Linked DNA regions of Homo sapiens: region 1 is linked to region 2. Evidence: promoter capture Hi-C in human tissues and cell types (Jung and others, 2019). All regions are on one chromosome and are shown on one strand. The core of a region is centred on a gene start or on the middle of the fragment in contact, and the rest is flanking DNA. Distances in the headings are between cores, read along the strand shown. Region 1 has its middle 220 kb from the start of MIR548AM. Region 2 holds the start of MAGEB17 (MAGE family member B17).

Region 1 (3,894 bases), core at 634-3,133, 240 kb before region 2:
TTTTAGAGGGATATGGGGAGAGTCAAGCCACAATACTTTATTTTGGGGAATTTATATCATCCTCTCCCTGGATAGATTTGAACACCACAGGCAGGAAATATAAACAAGATTTTCTCTTATTCTCAGAGCATTTCCGGGACAATAATATCTTTGAGACCAGGTTTGGTTTGGTTTTCTCTAGTTTCTCTGTAGCTGTTAGCAAAAGCCTATTGTGATAATGCGTGAATCTCTGTGAGAAAAATGACAAAACACAACAGGGTGTTTTCCTATGTAGGAGCAGGCTCAACGTGGCTCCCCAGCAAATAAAACCCAGTTACAGAATTCCTTTCTCCTCTTAACTCATGTAGTACATTGTCCCTCTATTCTTCTGTTTCACAGTCACGCTGCCTTCCATTAGTTACTTCTGGGTCTATTTCTTCCTCCATGTGTCTCTCCACTATACTAAAACAATTTTTTTAAAGGTCAGAGACTAAGACATGCATCTTTTTTTATCATCAGAAACTGTCCAGTAGAAACAGGATGTGAGTCACTAAATTTTCTTCATACTAATTGCTCTCATAGCCACATTTAAAAAGTAAAAAGAAATAAGTAAAATTAATTTTAGTAATGTATTTCATTTAGCCCAATATATCCAACATGTGAGCACTTTAACATGTAATCCATACAACACAGCTGAGATATTTCACATTTTGTTGGTATTACATTTTTCAGAATTCAGTGTGTCTTTTACACTTACCTCACATCTCATTTGGGACTAGGCACATTTCAAGGGCCTAATAGCCACATGGGACTAGTGTCCACCATAATGGACAACACAGGCATAGACAATGCCTTGGACAATAAGGGTACATCATAGTCACCAGTAGAATTTTACTTAGGCACAAAAAGAAGCTGTTAAGTGCTAGGATTTTAGAAAATACCGTAGTTACAGCTTAGTGTGATCCACAAAGATTTGACTGTCTCCCTTATAGTATGGCCAGCTTTATACTGCATTAACCAGGCTCAAGAGATCAGAGATGGGGGGTACGTGGGGCAGGTTAATGGGTACCAAAAAAAAGTTAGATAAAATGAATAAGACCTACTATTTGGTGGCACAACAGGGTGACTATAGTTAATAATCACTTAATTGTACATTTTAAAATAACTAAAGGAGCATATTGGATTATTTGTAATACAAAGGGCAAATGTTTGAGCGGATGGATACCCCATTCTCCATGACGTGATTATTACACATTGCATGCCTGTATCAAAACATCTCATGTGTCCTATCAATATATACACCTACTATGTACCCACAAAAATAAAAAAAAAGAAATCAGAGAGTGGGGAGAAATTTTACTTATCTAGATTCATATAATAACTTGACCTCAGAGAACACAGAGTCAAGTTATCTCATATTATAAATGGAGGTAACTGAGGCCCAGTTAAGCCTTTAAGTGATTTTTCCAAGGTCACACAGCTAGTCAGTGGCAGAGCCAGTCCTAGGACCCAGTTATTGACCCAACATTTATTTAGCAAGTTATCAAGAGCCTTCTATGTGTAAGATACTGTGCTATATGCTTGGGATATAAAGCCATTAAATTGCAGTTTCTGTATATGAGGTGTTGACAGGTAAGAGGGGGAGACAAAGGATAGGAATCATACTCTAAGACATTCTGGATGTTATACACCATGTATAGTGGAGCCCAAAGGAGGGGAAAGTGGTGAAAGGGGTGAGGTCTGGGAAGACTCATCTGTTGCCCACTTTAGTGCTGCCTGTAAGCTCCAGAATTCAAAACATGGGAGCCACTTGACCCATTAAATAACACATCATTAAACGTGGAATTTCTTTCCTTTTGAATATAGTTAAGGATTTTCCTCTCACATATTTGGGGCATGTCTTAGCTTGTGTTTCCTGAAAAGCAGATCCTGAGACAAAGACTTGGGAGCCAATAATTTAATTGGGAGGTGATCCCAGGATACCCAAGTTAGGGAGTGGGAATTGGGGCAAGGAAGAGAGAAAAGCCAATAAAGGGTGAGTGAATGTGTGGATTACAACTGCAGATGACTGGGGCTCAATCTTATTGGGGATATTGGGAGACAATGTAGAGCACACCTCAAAATTGTCCCAGCCTGTGAAGGTGAACCTGAGGTGTGTATCCACTGAATCTGGCTCCGCCTTGGTTGATTTAATCTGAGGGTGTTAAATCTGAGCTTCTTGGTGCACAAGCTCTCTCGAAGGCAGAGGGATATGGGTGCTTGAAGCAGGGAGCTGTCAGGGAGCCCAGGGAACAGTCCACCGTAGCAGCAGGTGGAGTCTGAAGTGTCAGGAGGGGAAACGAAGCAGGGCACCAACAGCATCTGCCATGGGAAATTACCCTCACTTTTTCAGTGTTAAGTCTGAATATCTTCCGTGCAGGAATGTTTTCCTGTACTGTATCGTCAAGTTTACTGTTTGCCCCAGTTTTCCTGCTTCCCCCTCTACAATGCCTGTTTTTAGAAGCTTGTATCTTTGTTCCTGTTGCTGTAATCTTTTTTTTTTTTTTTTTTTTTTTTTTACCATTTTCATCCTTTTGTTCTTTCCCCTCATTATTTTTGGAGTGCTGTGTAAGTTTGCCTTATACATTTTTTATTTGTTTCCTAATGCAGATTCTGCTCTTTTGTTGGCTCTAGTGGATACTTCTTTCTTTGTAGTTTCCTTGGATTCTTTGCAATTTGTCCCAGCTCTTTCTTCACCCTTCTATTTTCATGCCAGCCTTGCATGCTTTTATTTCTTCTTTCATTGCCTACTTCACAGAGTTCAGATTTTCTTATATATAAGGATGGTGCAAACGTAATTGAGGTTTTTGCCATATTTTTGAGAACCTAACTTCTTCCTGTTTCCCCACAGTTGCATACTTTCTTGATCTTTGCTGCTCAAACTGTGGTCTAAGCACCACCAGCATCAGCATCACCCAGGGGCTTGTTAGAAATGTACATTTTCAGACTCCACCCCAGACTCACTGAATCAGAATCTGCATTTTAACATAACATGCTCCCCTGCCCCCACTGCCACCCTCCCCACTTCAACCAGGGATTTGTATGTGTCCTGAGAGTTGAGAAGCACAGGTCCCTGGTTCCCTGGGAAGGAGCCTGGGGCGTGATTAGGAGCACAGACCTTCAATTTTTATTTGAGTCCCAGCCTTGGCACCAATCAGCCATGTGACTTTGAAGATTTAATTATCCTTCTGGGACTTCAGTGCCTCTCTCATGGGGTGGCTCTGAAAATTAAGGTAGGTAAGTATGTGAAGTGCTAAGCAGAGTACCTGGAACATCAGCATTTGAAAAATAACTGCTATGTGATCAGGTTTTAATGTTGCAAAATATTTTTATTGATCTTTTCATGTTAAATTCTTTTATTCCCCACCTGTGAGTTCATCCTTGCAAGAAAGAGATCTAGCCTGACCTGAGTTTTGCAGAAGATGAGGTAATACTACTCTCTCTCTGGTTATGTTCATGGACCAATTGGGGTTTGTCATAATTTCTGCCTCAGATTGTAACTTGAGGGAGTGAGTTGATGGGTACAGGTCTTAGCCAAATTCTTGGTATCTATAATCCTAAGCGACTCAGAGGGTTGTTTTCCTGCAGAAAAGGTGTGACTCAGACCTATTCTCTCCAAGGTAGGGGTGGATATTGGGGGGTCAGTTACATTCCACTCCTTCCTATTTCCTCTCTGGCTCTGTCCTGTTTCGAAGGACTAGGAAGTGAATACGACAATTTAATGTCAAGCTCATCTCCCCTACGGCCAACAGAATTTCTACTAGTGGGAGGCAAGTCATTGATTGCTTTGCTCAGCTTCCAGGACTTCTGTGAAATAAAATGTCCTGTGCATCCATGGGTGTTCTGCAGTGATAATGGAAACTGAGGAGCACACAG
Region 2 (3,532 bases), core at 351-2,850:
AGAGCCACTTCTCTGAAACGCCACCCTGACCCCTTCAGGACACGAGGGGTCACCAAATGCTAATGGCTCTGCCCATGGTTTCCCAGGGCGCACAGCAGAGCTGAGACTCTATGTGGTCTCCTGTGTTTTGGAATGGCCATTTTCCTCCCTCCTCACGCAGGGTTTTTTTTACCTTCACTCCCCACAGAGCCTGGGACTCCTTTCTCCGCTGACCTGGGGCAGCCAGTCTTGCAACCAAAGCCCTCTGCTGAAACGCTCCGTGCAGCCCTGTCTACTGAGGGCTCAGGATCTTCACCTTGCTACTTGACCAGTCCTGGGACTCCATCCTCAGCTCACTACAGGCAACACCCTTCAAAGCAAGATCCTTGCTTCAATGGGACCTCAGATTTGGACATTCAGGGTAAGCCACATCCTCTCAAGGCTGTTTAGGGCCTTCAAGGCGTGACAGCAGGGGTGGGACTATAGGGGACCCCACTGCTCTGCCTCAGGGTTCTGAACCTGGCTCAGGGTGGGACCTCCAACTCTTTGGGACGCGACTCAGGTCGCTCCACTGACCTGAGTCAGCCAGGCCCAGGCCCAAGCTCTCACGTCCCAAAGTTGCTAGAGGGAAAAGTCACGGCATGCCCCGTCTGGCTATGCCTGCACGGGGTCTCCCAGAGCTGACAACAGGGCAGCAGAAACCTGGCTCTCTGGCTCTCCCTGGCTCTCTTGCTTTTTCCTTTTTTTTTTTTTTCTTTGTGACAGACACGGGGTCTCACTCTGTCGCCACGCTCATGGCGTGACCATGGCTCACTGCAGCTTCGACCTGCTGGGCTCAAGCGATCCTCCTGCCTCAGCCTCCCGAGTCGCTGGGGCCACAGGCGCCGGCCACCATGTCCCGCTAGTTTTTGTTCTTTTCTTTCTTGGAGAGAGAGGGTCTCGCTTTGTTACTCAGACTGGTCTGGAACTGCTGGGCTCGGGTAATCCTCCCGCCTCAGCCTCCCAAAGCACTGGGATCACAGGTGTGAGCTACCATGCCCGCCTCGTGGGCCTCCCATGTTTGGGAGAGGTCTCCTCATCAGCATCAGGGACCTCATTTCGATTAGGGCCTAGGAGTCCATCCCTCTGCAGAATCGAAGCCTCACCCTCACACCAAACCCTCCCCTCCCTGGTGCCCTCTCAGAAGTCAGTGCCACAGCCTGACTGGAGCCTCCCGCGGCTGAGGGAGGTGGGTACCCGGGGGCGGGGGTTGGGGGACACAGGGTGGTCGCCTTGGCTGCGTGTGGTGGGCCTTTCAGTCCACGATCAGGGTCCTTACCTTGATACCCAACCAGTCTTGGGGTTCTGGTAGCCTGAGGTGGCGTCCCTCAGACGAAGATCCTCACTTCCGGCAGCTTCCCAGGCGGGCGGATGTCGGAGTGAGCCACATCCAATCAAGTCCCTGCTGGGTCTCCCAGGGCTGAAAGCGGGGCGGGGCTCTGCTCGGGCCCCCTTTTTGCATAGAAGTCCTCTCCAGTGTACTCAGTGTCCTCTCCGGGACTCCAATGAGTGTCCAGTTCTCCTCCCTCAGCTGAACTGTGCTTTTGCCTTTAGACAGAGTCACTACCCTCGTTAGAGCATCTAAGCAGAAAAAAAGGGGTCCTCAGCTGAGGTCTTTGCTATGGCTGACAAGATTAAGCATTTTTTTATTTTTGTTTTTATTTTTTGCTGATAACCATTCCCTTATGTCACTCTCGGTCCTCACCTTGATTCGAGTCAGTTTCTGGGGCTCCACTATGCACAGCTGGGGCTTCCCCCACCAGACCAAGATTCTCCCTTCCCTGAGACCCTCCAGGCCGAAATGACAGTCACCTCAACCTGACAGCTCTTCCTGAGCTTCCCAAGTCACAGGAGAGGTAAGGATGGTGTGACAGGAGTGGGGATGGGATGGTGTGGCAGCGGCGGTGCAGGGAAGGGGAGATGTGGGTTGGTGGAGGTAAGAGTTTTTGTGTCTTCCTCTGTTCTAGTATGGATGTGTGGTTTTCTAATTGCTCCCTGAAATTCCTCACCTTGACACCTGACTGACTAGTCCTGGAACTCGATCCTCATGGGACTTGAGGCTGCTCCCCTCTGATCAAGGTCTTCACCTTCCTGGGACTACAGAGTTGTAATCAGGATGAGCCAAATCTACCAATGACTATTCCAGAACGACAAGGGCTGTCAGCCAGGGCAGGACTCTATGGGACCCCACTGTTCTGGCTTGTTCCTTCCTTTATTCTTAATTCAGGGTCATCACCTTGGTATCTATCAGAAGCTCACAGTCCTTCCTCTACTGACCTGAGTTTGTCTTCCTGAAATCTCTCATGCTCCTGAGAACCTTGAAGGATAATTGTGGAGATGCTCAGCCTCAGCCCTGCCTGTGGCCCTCTAAGTCTGAGAGCAGCCACAGGCTGGTCTCTGTTGGACCTCCAATATTCTGGGATGACGGTATCCTCAGTCCTCCTACATGGGGCTTCACATCTTGGTTCCTGTCTCATTAATTCAAGGCTTCCTGGGAAATGCCAAATCCCTGCAATCTCTTTAACAGTTTTTCTTCCGCAAACTTTGCAGAGAATGGCTCCTTGCCCTGAAGTGATGAGAGATCAGGAAGTTGTAGCTCAAGGCAGGGGGCCCAGGACAAGTGGTGGGTGGTCAAAATAAAGCCAGTTGGTCTATTCCATTTCTTTACCAGCCAGACTTTGCCTCTGCTGTAACTTTGGTTCTAATAGATTGGCTTTCTCCAAGGAAGGGTAGGGCCACATGATTCTGTGAGTCCCCAATCTTTTCAGGTGATCTGACATCACATATGTAGATGATCATGTGGTCACTGAGTATTGTCTCTTTCTTTTCCTTATTCATAGCTCTCATTTATTTTTGTATTCTTATTGCTCTGGCTATGTATTCCAAACCAGTAGTTTGTACACGGTATTTTTCTTCTTATTACTTGATATACAATTTGGAGTAGGGAGAAGAAAAGTGAATTAAGATACACAAGGTCTGTCTCAGGCTGAGATGAGTGTGACAGTATGGGAATAGTTTTATTCTAAATAAACAATACTCGCCGGGCATGGTGTCTCACCCCTGTAATCCCAACACTTTGGGAGGCTGAGGCGGGTGGATCACCTGAGGTCAGGAGTTCGAGACCAGCCTGGCCAACATGGCGAACCCCTGTTGCTACTGAAAAAATACAATAATTAGCTGGGTGTGGTGGCAGGTGCCTGTAATCCCAGCTTCTTGGGAGGTTGAGGCAGGAGAATTGCTTGAACCCGGGAGGTGGAGGTTGCAGTGAGCCGAGATTGCGCCACTGCACTCCAGCATGGGCGATAGAGTGAGACTCCATCTCAAGAAAAAAAAAAAAGCAATACTTGCAGATGGTTAGCAAGAAAGTTTATTTTTTTCTTACCATGGCATTCACCAGCATGTTTCATGCTTCCTAGTTAATATGAGCCCCTATGACAAGTTTGACCACTCACAGTGATGTATGTTAAAGAACTCTCAGAACGTTCCCCTGCCTTTGACTACAGGCCAGAGAGTC

The links. The method cuts DNA at HindIII sites, captures the fragments that hold promoters and counts their contacts. A contact is called where the count stands out against the background at its distance.
Region 1: a contact is called between a fragment that was not itself captured here and the fragment with the promoter of MAGEB17 in region 2, in 2 of the 25 tissues and cell types used here (aorta and mesendoderm cells).

Annotation. Positions count from the first base shown.
Region 1 is chrX:16,403,091-16,406,984 of GRCh38, reverse strand. No RefSeq gene overlaps it. Among named protein-coding and RNA genes, the nearest start is that of MIR548AM, 220 kb to the left of the region's middle. The HindIII fragment of the contact is 9,450 bases long and covers 1-3,894 here.
Region 2 is chrX:16,165,549-16,169,080 of GRCh38, reverse strand. MAGEB17 (MAGE family member B17) reads right to left here and starts at 1,600. Exons shown (of 2, transcript NM_001277307.2): 1 at 1,298-1,600. It overlaps MAGEB17-AS1 (MAGEB17 antisense RNA 1), which reads left to right and starts at 402. Exons shown (of 5, transcript NR_187144.1): 1 at 402-1,874. RefSeq lists an enhancer at 1-865. The HindIII fragment of the contact is 9,214 bases long and covers 1-3,532 here.